2 separate regions of the Homo sapiens genome follow, and region 2 is linked to region 1. The links are contacts of gene promoters, found by promoter capture Hi-C in blood cells and fetal thymus (Javierre and others, 2016). All regions are on one chromosome and are shown on one strand. The core of a region is centred on a gene start or on the middle of the fragment in contact, and the rest is flanking DNA. Distances in the headings are between cores, read along the strand shown. Region 1 holds the start of RAB43 (RAB43, member RAS oncogene family). Region 2 holds the start of RUVBL1 (RuvB like AAA ATPase 1).

Region 1 (5,227 bases), core at 30-2,529:
GTTGGATCTAGTATAAGCTTCTTACAGATGTTTGGGTCTCCTTTCTCTGAGGCGCCCTGGTTCACTGGGCCAACTCAGGAGTTGGTCTGCCCTTCCTCAGAAATCCCTTCAAGTTTTTCTGTTCCTCTTCCTAGACTGGTGCTTTTTGGCTGGGTCAGTTTCCCAAATGGGCCTGTAGCTGCTCTGAGCTGGGTCATCCAGCCGTTTAGCAGCTGCTTCAACCACTGCTAGGCTGCCTTTTGGAGACAAGAGCTCCCAGCTCCTCCTTCTGGCCTAGCTTCCCATCAAATGGGGCCCTGGGTCCTCTCCTCACAAGGATTTTGGGCTCCTCCGCAGTTTTGTAGCCAGCCTGGATTCTGGCCTTCTGCAGCCTGCTCCCTCCCTTCCCTTCCGCCCCTGGGAAGAGCGACCCCCACCACTCTCGGAGACTGCACTGCCCGCCTGTCAGAGTGGGCACTCAGGTGACACTGCTGTGGTCGTCCCCTTCCTCCGTGATCCATTCCGGAGGGGGTCATTCTTAGTCTAGGCCTGCAGGCCCGGAGCTCCAGCCATGGTCTCCGCCTGTCCCTGACCGGCGGTCTGGGAGGCAGCAGGTAGGGGATCCCGGGCAGGCGGACCAGGCCTGGGTGGGGGGCGAGCAGGAGGCGCGGGACAGCACCTGGGGGTCCCAGCTGATGAAGGGTCGGGGTGGGCAGCGGTTTGGGGGCCAGACGGATCCGCGGTGTGGGCGCGCCGGGGTGTTGATGGAGGAGGGGCCGAGGTGCTGAGGGCGGGGTCGGGCTGGGGTCGGGGCTGAGGGCGGAGTCGGGTGGGGCGGAGTCAGAGCTGAGGTGAGCCTGAGGGCGGAGTCGGGGCGGGCTGAGGTGGGCCTGTGGGCGGAGTCGGGGCGGTGTGCTGAGGTGGGCCTGAGGGCGGAGTCGAGGTCGGGCTGAAGGCGGAGTCGGGGAGGGCTGAGGTGGGCCTGAAGGCAGAGTCGAGGTCGGAGCTGGGGACGGAGTCGAGTTCGGGCTGAGGGCGGAGTCGGGGCGGGCTGAGGTGGTCCTGTGGGCGGAGTCGAGGTCGGGCTGAGGGCAGAGTCGGGTCGGAGTCGGGGCGCGCTGAGGTGGGCCTGGGGGCGGAGTCGAGGTCGGAGCTGAGGGCGGAGTCGGGGGCGGGGACGTAGGCGGAACCCGGGTCGGGCTGAGGTGGGCCCGAGGGTTGGGCTGGGGGCGGAGTGGGTGCCAGCCTGAGGGCGGAGCCGGGGGCGGGCGGGGGCGGGCTGGGGCGGGCCTACAGGCCAGACTGGTGTGGCACGGAGCTGAGGACCGGCCGGAGCTTTGCGGAGGGCCCGGCTTGGCGGGTCCGGGGGGGAGCCGAACCCGCGGGGCACCGGGTCCGGGCGGGGCCGAGCCGGGCCGGGGCGGGAGCCAGCCGGGGTGGGGCGGGGCCGAGGCCGAGGCAGGCGGTCGGCAGTGCTGGGGGTTCAGGTGTTGCGGCGGCTCCACGTAGCCAGGCGGCCCGTGGGCTGGAGCGGGCGGAGCTCGGCCCGCGGCTTGCGTGAGCTCAGGCCGGTCCCAGCGTCCAGAGCGCCGGCCCTTCGGCTTCTTCTAGGCCATGGCAGGGCCGGGCCCAGGCCCGGGGGACCCGGACGAGCAGTACGATTTCCTGTTCAAGCTGGTGCTGGTGGGCGACGCAAGCGTGGGCAAGACGTGCGTGGTGCAGCGCTTCAAGACCGGCGCCTTCTCGGAGCGCCAGGGAAGCACCATCGGCGTCGACTTCACCATGAAGACGCTGGAGATCCAGGGCAAGCGGGTCAAGGTGGGAGGCCGGCCAGGGCCCCTGGAAGGCGCTCCCTCGGAGGGTGGGGCGGGGGCAGCGGAGCCCCTGGCCGCGGCGAGCGCACCCCGCGTCCATCTGAAGTTTCCTTTGGCTTCCCCTTTTTCCTTCCTCGGGTCGGAGCAGGCCTGGGCCCCGGGGTCTGGGCCGGGTTCAAGTCCTCAAAGCGCCGGCCGTGGGTTGCTGGGGGGGGGGGGGGCGAGGGAGTGTGGAGGAGGCGGCCCTGCCCTCCGGAGCTCACACCCTAGGAGGGGACTGTGCTCCAAAATAACTTTAGCCATTGGAAGGCAGGGGGTTAGACTCCCCTGTTCCAGGTACTAGCGGAGCGCCTTGGAGTGCGGAGATCAGACCCCCCACCTCCATCCACCGCGATGGCAGCCCCCAGCTCAGCCCACCGGCGGGGCACTCAGCCAGAGAACTGCATCCCCACCCCAGGACTAGGAGCGATCAGGAAGTAGTTGCTTTTAGGACCAGAGGGCCAAAACTTTTTGTCAGAATTTCCGGCCTGGCCACGCCTCCCTGCAGTCTCTTTGTGGACCTGGTGGTGGAACTTTACTCGACTAGGGCCAGCCCCGGTTCCCTCCCCCAGCTGGAGTTTGATAGAAACTGAAAACTTCACAGATACCGGAAGGTGGGGGAGAGAACCAAGCTTTGGCAATGGCTCCGAATAAAAACAGCAGGATGTGGTTGCCACAATGTCCTGGCAGTGGTTTGATAAATATTTGTGATGAATGAAATCAGAGTTTCTTAACCTAGGTGTTAGTACTCCCTAATCAACCAGGAGATCCTGGGCTGAAGGCACTCAGTAACTTTTCTGAACCGCACTGTACAGAAATCTTTGCTTGCTTTCATGGTTTCGAGCCCCCATGATCTTCAGGACACCCTCAGGGCACAGGGCTGGGACGATCTCTGCCAGGGAGATGGGAGTCACTGGAGCCTTGCTGCTGCTGGGCTCTGCCTCTCCGGGTGGCTCTAGGCCTGCTCCTTGTTGCCTTTGGCTAGGATATGTAGCTCTTTGTCTTTGTTTCTATAAAATTGGGATAATTTCTGGGTGTTGCCTCCCTCCTGCCCCAAGGTGGAGAAAAAAGTAAGTCAACAGTCTTTATGTGTCCACAGTGCCTCTCAGTAGATGTGACGGGGAAGCAGAAACTCCTGCCTGAGGGGTTTTATTATTATTATATTTTAATCGTCTTCTGGGGTCTGTGTTTTGGTCTCCGTGGATGGAAAAGAGCAAGGTGCAGAAGGCAGCTTTGAGTCACTCGGGACCACCCTTTTGGAGCAGGTAGCCAGGGAAGGGCTGGAGTGGGTGGAGTGTCCGTTATTGAGTGTGCCCAGTGATGATGCCAGCAGCTGCAGGGAAATGGGAGTGTGAAAATACAGGCTAAAGAGCAGTGGTGTCCTCCTCATGTGCTATCGGTCTGTGTCTGGAGTGTCTGTGGTGGCCCAGTGCTGACGGTGGTCAGGGAGGGGGCAGGGTTCCTGTTTACCTGTTGAGATAACAGACTGTGTCCCAGCAGAGCTCCTGGTTTACTGCGCACGGGTTATGCAATGCAGGGCCAGGCAGTTCGTTATTTTCTTTCCTTATGGTTGCCTCCAGATTGTCCTTCCTAGGAAGCAGCCCGGGGCCCAGGGAGCAGAAGAGCTGTGTAGCTGTGGTAAACACCTCTCCAAGTTATAGCCGCTGACCTTCTTGAGAGGCTGTTGGGAATCAGCTGGGTTACAGGTGCATTCTCTGCTGACTGGAGGGAATTCTTACCCCCGCTCACACAGGATGGAGCCTGGGCACACAGCTAAGAAGTGATAGAGGTGGGAATATTTTTCCCAGTTTTTCTGACTCCAAAGCAGATTTCTCCCCCATAGTGGACAGCTTTTCAGAATCCCGTTGTCTGTGGTGGGGAAGCCTCTGGCAATTGTTTACCACCTCATTTTGCCGGCAGGAAAACCTGAAGTCTAACTCACTGCAGAGGCTCCAAATTAAAGCTGGGCAGCCGTGAACTTGAGGGAACACTGTCCTTCGAGTCAGGCTTCCTGGGGTCCGCTGCCGCAGCAGGAGCAAGCCATTTTCCCTCCTCCATCTGTAAAGTGCCTCTGAGTAGTCTTTTGGCAATGTGATTTTAAGTCAAGTTTTTTGAGGTCTAATTTACACACGGTAAACCTTCACCACTTGAGGTGTTACAGGTCTATGAACTTCTCAAACTTACACAGACAAGCAGCCACATCACTATCAAGATGGAGAATTTTTCCACCAACCCAGAAAGTTCTTTTGTTCTTCTGTAGTCAGTTCCTTTCACCTCATCCTGTGGCAACCCCCGATCTGTTTTTTGTCTCTGTAGTTTCAGCAGTGTGATTTTAACTGAAAGCCTTGATGAACCAGAGCTTATTGTTGTTTTTTCTGTGGAAAGCAAGTGCACATCAGGGATTCAGTGTAAAACCTTTCCAGGGGCCGGGTGCAGTGGCTCATGCCTGCAATCCCAGCACTTTGGGAGGCCGAGGCAGGAAGATTGCTGGATGTCAAGAGTTCGAGATGAGCCTGGCCAGCATAGTGAGACGTGGTATCTATTTAGAATAAAATAAAATAAACCTTCTCAGGGCCTGTCTTGGGAAGCCCGAGATGCTTGTCCAGCAAGCATCCAGTCTTATATCCTAAAGCTTTCCCTGTGATTCTTTACAATGATGCTGGGTTTTATTAGAGCTTCAGGAAGCTTAGAGATGGATCACCTGGTGGTTTTCTAGCTCCTGTGAGCTTGGAGGTACTGAAAGGTAAGGAGAAAAGCCAAGAGGTCAGAGAGAGGGTCAGAAGGGCTTTAACTAGCTTCCCAACCAGTCAGAGCAATACCTTTATCTAGTTGTAGGTTGAAATTCTTGTTATTTGACTAAAGAATTCTCCTGCTAAAAAAACCGAAACATTTGAGAATCACAGATTTAATCAAATTACTTTATTTCTGTAGCCACTTCCCATTACAACCAGAATAACCTCCAAACACCTTCCCCAAAGAGATGGACCTCTGGAAGGAGACAAAGTTGGAGAGGCAGACAGAGGCCCATCTCTACCCTTCACTGCCTGCTCTCCAGCTTCACTAGCCCTTCAACATGGTGGGCTTACCCCTGCCTCAGGACCTTTGCATCTCTTCCCGTGCCCATCATACTCTGCCTCTAGATCCCCACGTAACTGCTACTTCATCATTCAGGTCCCAACGCAAATGCCACATCTTCAGAGAGGCCTTGCCTGATCTCCCAGGTCCTCTATTCTGTAACTCTATTGTATCTGGTCATAACACTTACCACAGCTTCAAATTAACTGTTTTTTTCTGTCTGCCCCTATAGAAGGTAAGCTCCTTGAAGACACAGGGATCCAGTGGGCCAGTGTCAAACACATGGTGTCCAATATGTGCCTGTTAATTGGTTCCTTTAT
Region 2 (4,975 bases), core at 2,476-4,975, 1.0 Mb after region 1:
CCCACCTCCTGGCATGCCTGCTTGGACTTTCTGTGAGATAAAGTGACTTCTCTCTTGTTTGATCCACTGTTATTTTAGATCTCTCTGTTACTGCAGCTGAACTAATCTTTTAACTAATGTAACATTTACTGCTGGGTGCTATGGCTAATGCCTGTAATCCCAGCATTTTGGGAGGTCAAGGCAGGAGGATTGCTTGAGTTCAGGAATTCAAGACCAGCTTAGCCAACACAGCAAGACCCCTGTCTTTACAAAAAAATAGAAAAAATTAGCTGGGTGTGGTGGCGCATGCCCAGCTACTCGGGAGGCTGAGATGGGAGGATCACTTGAAGCCCCCCAAAAAACTAACACAACGTTTATGTATTTATGTATGTATGTATGTATGTATGTATGTATGTATGTATGTATGTATTTATTATTTTTGAGACAGGGTCTCACTCTGTCGCCCAGGCTGGAGTGCAGTGGCGCAATCTCGGCTCACTGCAACCTCTGCCTTCTGGGTTCAAGCAATTCTTCTGCCTCAGCCTCCCGAGTAGCTGGGACTACAGGTGTGTGCTGCCATGCCTGGCTAATTTTTGTATTTTTAGTAGAGATGGGGTTTCACCATGTTGGCCAGGCTGGTCTCGAACTCCTGACCTCAAGTGATCTGCCCACCTCGGCCTCCCAAAGTGTTGGGATTACAGGCGTGAGCCACTGCACCTGGCCAAATAACAACATTTAATCATTACTTGGGTTGCTCCAGTTGAGGCTGGAGACCATGACTGTGCAGTGGTTACAGGGCACCACTGGGTAGTTGCATCCTGCCACACACAGTAGCCCTCAGGAGGCAGTGAAGAAGGCAGAGGGAGGCTTGACCTGGGCTTGTGGGTTCAAAGTTCAGGTGTGATAGAAGTCAAGGTAAGGAGGGAGCAGAAGGGTCAGGAAACAAGTGATTGAGATAATCAAGCTTGGGCTGGAGAAAGAGAGGTCAAAGGCCTGGAGGTGAAAGAGCAAAGGTCGTGGGAGTAAGGGAATGAGAGGGTCGTGGGAGTGAGGGAATGAGAGCTGGCAGGTCTAGGGCTGTCACAGCACAATTCTGGAATGTAGTAGTCCACACAATTACTTACATATGTGTCACTACATTGATATGGATTTTCAGTACCCACAGATAGAAATCTAACTCAAACATCTTAAGCCCCAAAGTAAATGCCATGTTACACTGCAAGTAAGGCGAGGATGATGCAGGGATATAAAGGATTTCATCGGGAATCTCTTTCTGTCAGCTTTCCTTTCCTCTGTCTTGGCTTCATTCTCAGGTAGAGTCTCCCCATGAAGTAACAAAGAAGACCAGCCTGCAGATCCATTACCTACATTTTCTCTCCTGATATGTCCAGTAAATTGCCAGGACTGACTGTCATTGAACTAGCTGCTCACATTTCTGAGCCAATTACAGTGTCTGAGAGGATGGGATACTGATAGGTCAGGCCAGGGCCACGTGTTTACCACTGAAACAAACATGGGGTGTGGGGTCAGTTCGCCCAAACTACGCAGACTCAAAGTGGGAGAACGGTCATTTCCTGAAGGAAAACGAGAGTGGTGGTGCGCAGAAGTGGGATGGACGCTGGTCAGGAATAACCCTGTCCACTGCAGCAGGCCTCACTTGCTGTTTATTGGACTTGTGTAGCTTGGATACTGGCCTGCCACATTGTTTTCTGTTGAAATGAAAGAAATTGTCTGACTTTGCAGCCAGGTCCAGCATCTTTACACACTGGATCTGTGTCAGGCATTTGCTCAATTTGTGACCTTGGACAAACCCTGTCCCTTCCTGGGGCCTCAGTTCCGTCACATGTAAAATGAGAATGCTAGGCCAGATCAATGACCTTTTTTTTTTTTTTTGAGATGAGTCTTGCTCTGTTGCCCAGGTTGGAGTGCAATGGCACGATCTCGGCTCACTGCAACCTCCACCTCCTGAGTTCAAGCGATTCTCGTGCCTCAGCCTCCTGAGTAGCTGGGGTTACAGGCGCCTGCCATCACGCCCAGGTAATTTTTGTATTTTTAGTAGAGATGGGGTTTTGCCATATTGGCCGGGCTGGTTTCGAACTCCTGACCTCAGGTGATCCACCTGCCTCGGCCTCCCAGAGTGCTGGGATTACAGGCGTGTACCACCGCCCCTGGCCCATCAGTGATGTTTGAACTGTTATTTAGCACACACACACACACACACACACACACACACACAAAGGAACAACTCTGGTGGAAGTGGGGGCATGGAGCTGGTATCCTACACTCTCAGCATTCCCTGTCCCCACCCGTACTGGCCACAAAAGGATTCCACAACTGCTGGGAATGTGGTTTGAAAACCACTAGACCAAGTAATCCAGGGGATATTCCTCTGTGCTCTAAAATCCTGATTCTCCCTTTCTCTTTTTGGACTAGAAGGAAATCCTTCTTTCTGTGCCAAAAGATACAAAGACTAGGGCTGAAATAATAAGTGTAAAAAAAGTCTTTTTCCTTAATTGGACAATACACAAAGAAGTCAGTCCCATAGAATGCCTCACTTTGACTACTAGTTGGTGGAAAAGTTTCCTTCTCCATATAGAGAAAGGAATTGCTTCTTTTCTAAGAGTAATGACCAGGAACAAGTCAATGAGGGGCTAAGCAACTTTGTGGGGTGCTGTCTCTAGTGCTGATGAACCACATGCCCTAGTAACAACCTCAGCCTTCCAAGGCCTGGCCTCTGTTCTTTTAGGCCCTGAAAATGCCAAAAGATTCCATTCACTGATGGAAATCATTACCAAGTCCTATAAAAGCCAACGTGTAAAATACATGCAGCAAAACTGATGAATTCAAGTGTATGTGTTTGTGTGTGGTCTAGAACCTTAATTGAATTCATGAGAAGCCTTAATTGTGAGCTGTGTTGTAGGCTGTGTGCCAGGCACTTAGGTTAAAATGGTAAACAATCAAATGTGGTCTACACCCTCAAAAGGCCTGCAGTTTACTGGGAGAGAAAAACATTGACCCAGTAATTATGCAAATCATTAGAAACCTAGATTCAAAAGAAAAGAAAAAAGTATATAGAAACCTAGATTCAAATGTTAGAATCAAGATGTACAAGGAGGTGTGAGAGGCCGGGCGCGGTGGCTCACGCTTGTAATCCCAGCACTTTGGGAGGCCGAGGCGGGCGGATCACGAGGTCAGGAGATTGAGACCATTCTGGCTAACACGGTGAAACCCCGTCTCTACTAAAAATACAAAAAAATTAGCCGGGCGTGATGGTGGGCGCCTGTAGTCCCAGCTACTCGGGAGGCTGAGGCAGGAGAATGGCGTGAACCCGGGAGGCGGAGCTTGCAGTGAGCCGAGATTGCGCCACTGCACTCCCGCCTGGGCCACAAAGCAAGACTCCGTCTCAAAAAAAAAAAAAAAAAAAAAAAAAAAGGCGGTGTGAGACTGTGGAACTACTGTAATTGGATTTGATTTCAGGTCTGTCTCAATTCTAACATAAACTCTCCTGCACTCTGGGCAAGTCCTTCCCTTCCTCTGGATGTTAGTATCCTCTTCTGTAAAAATGGTGTCATACCATTTGCTTCTGAGGAAATCTCTCCTATTTGTTGGAATTCAGCCAAGGCAACATCACCTTCATGATGCCTTCCCTGGCTCTCCAGGCTGTTCCGGGGGCTTCTGCTCTGGTCTTCTCGCCACCTGGGTGTACCTGTCTCAGCACATCTCACGTTGCAAGTTTTCTAAGCAAGAAGTAAACGCATCAAGACTTTTATCCCTGTATCCCCAGTGCATTGTGGTGTCTGGCTCGTGTTTGTTGAACGGATGGATGGATGGATGGCAAGTACAATTGTGGTGCAGGTTGTGCTAATATCATTATGAAACCTGAAGGGACAATTTGCTGGCTGATTGTCTCAGCTGGAGTCATGGGACGTGATGAGCATTATTATATAGGTTTTGAAGCCTGAAGATTTCTAGTTCTGATTATTTGTGATGCTTTCTTGGGCGGATGGGCCTCTTTCCGCTTGTTTGTAGCTGCATGCGTAATTACACTACCTTACAGGGCTGTGGAATTTTGAAAACTGCAAAATGTTATTTACAGTCAACTGAACTCAGCAGGAACCTTATCTCTCGGTGGAGGATGGAGGATAGAAGCAGGGGAAGACAATTCCACGGAAACGGTGGTGGGTTGAGCTGGGCCTTTCCAGGGAGATGCAAAGGTATGGGAGTCAGAAAACATTGGTTAGTAACCAATCCCAGTTTAAGCTCTGAACCTCAGTTCTTCTGTTTCCAAAACGGAAATAATAACTTGAGATTTGCGTAAGAGTATGACGTTCAAATGTGCTAATGGATAGGACGGAAGGATTAGGAGTGGTACCCGGGGGCCACTGCCTCGTGCAACGCCCCAGCCCTAGATCAAATCCGGGGCGTGGTCCCACTGTGCTCCCGACCCCAGCCTCGGCAGGAAGCGCCGGCTACGGGGGAAGCCAACCCGGAGACACAGACGGAAGTGGGTGACCGGAGCTCTAGCAGCAGCCGCGATGGGCGCAGCCGTGAGCCTATGGAGAGCGGAGGTGTTCCCGCTTCCACCAATGGAAAGCCGGTCTAGGCGGGCCTTTGCAAATTGCCCTAGTAACGGCCGCATGGTAACTCAGGCGCCGGGCGCACTGTCCTAGCTGCTGGTTTTCCACGCTGGTTTTAGCTCCCGGCGTCTGCAAAATGAAGATTGAGGAGGTGAAGAGCACTACGAAGACGCAGCGCATCGCCTCCCACAGCCACGTGAAAGGGCTGGGGCTGGACGAGAGCGGCTTGGCCAAGCAGGCGGCCTCAGGGCTTGTGGGCCAGGAGAACGCGCGAGAGGTGTGGCCAGTGGACCAGGGAGTTGGGGGCTGCAAGCAGGGCTGCTGCGGCGAGAGAGCTGCTGAAGTCGGTGGCTCGGGGCGGGATGCGCGCGCCAGGGGTCTCCCGCCATTATTTCCTCAGGGAAGTGAAAATGGGCCAG

The links. Contacts are between HindIII fragments. The CHiCAGO score rates a contact against its expected background, and 5 or more counts as called.
Region 2: a contact is called between a fragment that was not itself captured here and the fragment with the promoter of RAB43 in region 1, in 1 of 17 cell types (total CD8 T cells). The highest score is 6.3, in total CD8 T cells.

The regions. Positions count from the first base shown.
Region 1 is chr3:129,117,856-129,123,082 of GRCh38, reverse strand. It overlaps RAB43 (RAB43, member RAS oncogene family), which reads left to right and starts at 1,279. Exons shown (of 3, transcript NM_198490.3): 1 at 1,279-1,797. The coding sequence starts at 1,594. All of the region lies in intron 11 of ISY1-RAB43 (ISY1-RAB43 readthrough), which reads left to right. RefSeq lists silencers at 1,050-1,269, 1,290-1,469 and an enhancer at 2,250-3,195. The HindIII fragment of the contact is 2,447 bases long and covers 20-2,466 here.
Region 2 is chr3:128,123,442-128,128,416 of GRCh38, reverse strand. RUVBL1 (RuvB like AAA ATPase 1) reads left to right here and starts at 4,605. Exons shown (of 11, transcript NM_003707.3): 1 at 4,605-4,833. The coding sequence starts at 4,693. RefSeq lists a silencer at 4,554-4,613 and an enhancer at 4,804-4,853. The HindIII fragment of the contact is 5,560 bases long and covers 946-4,975 here.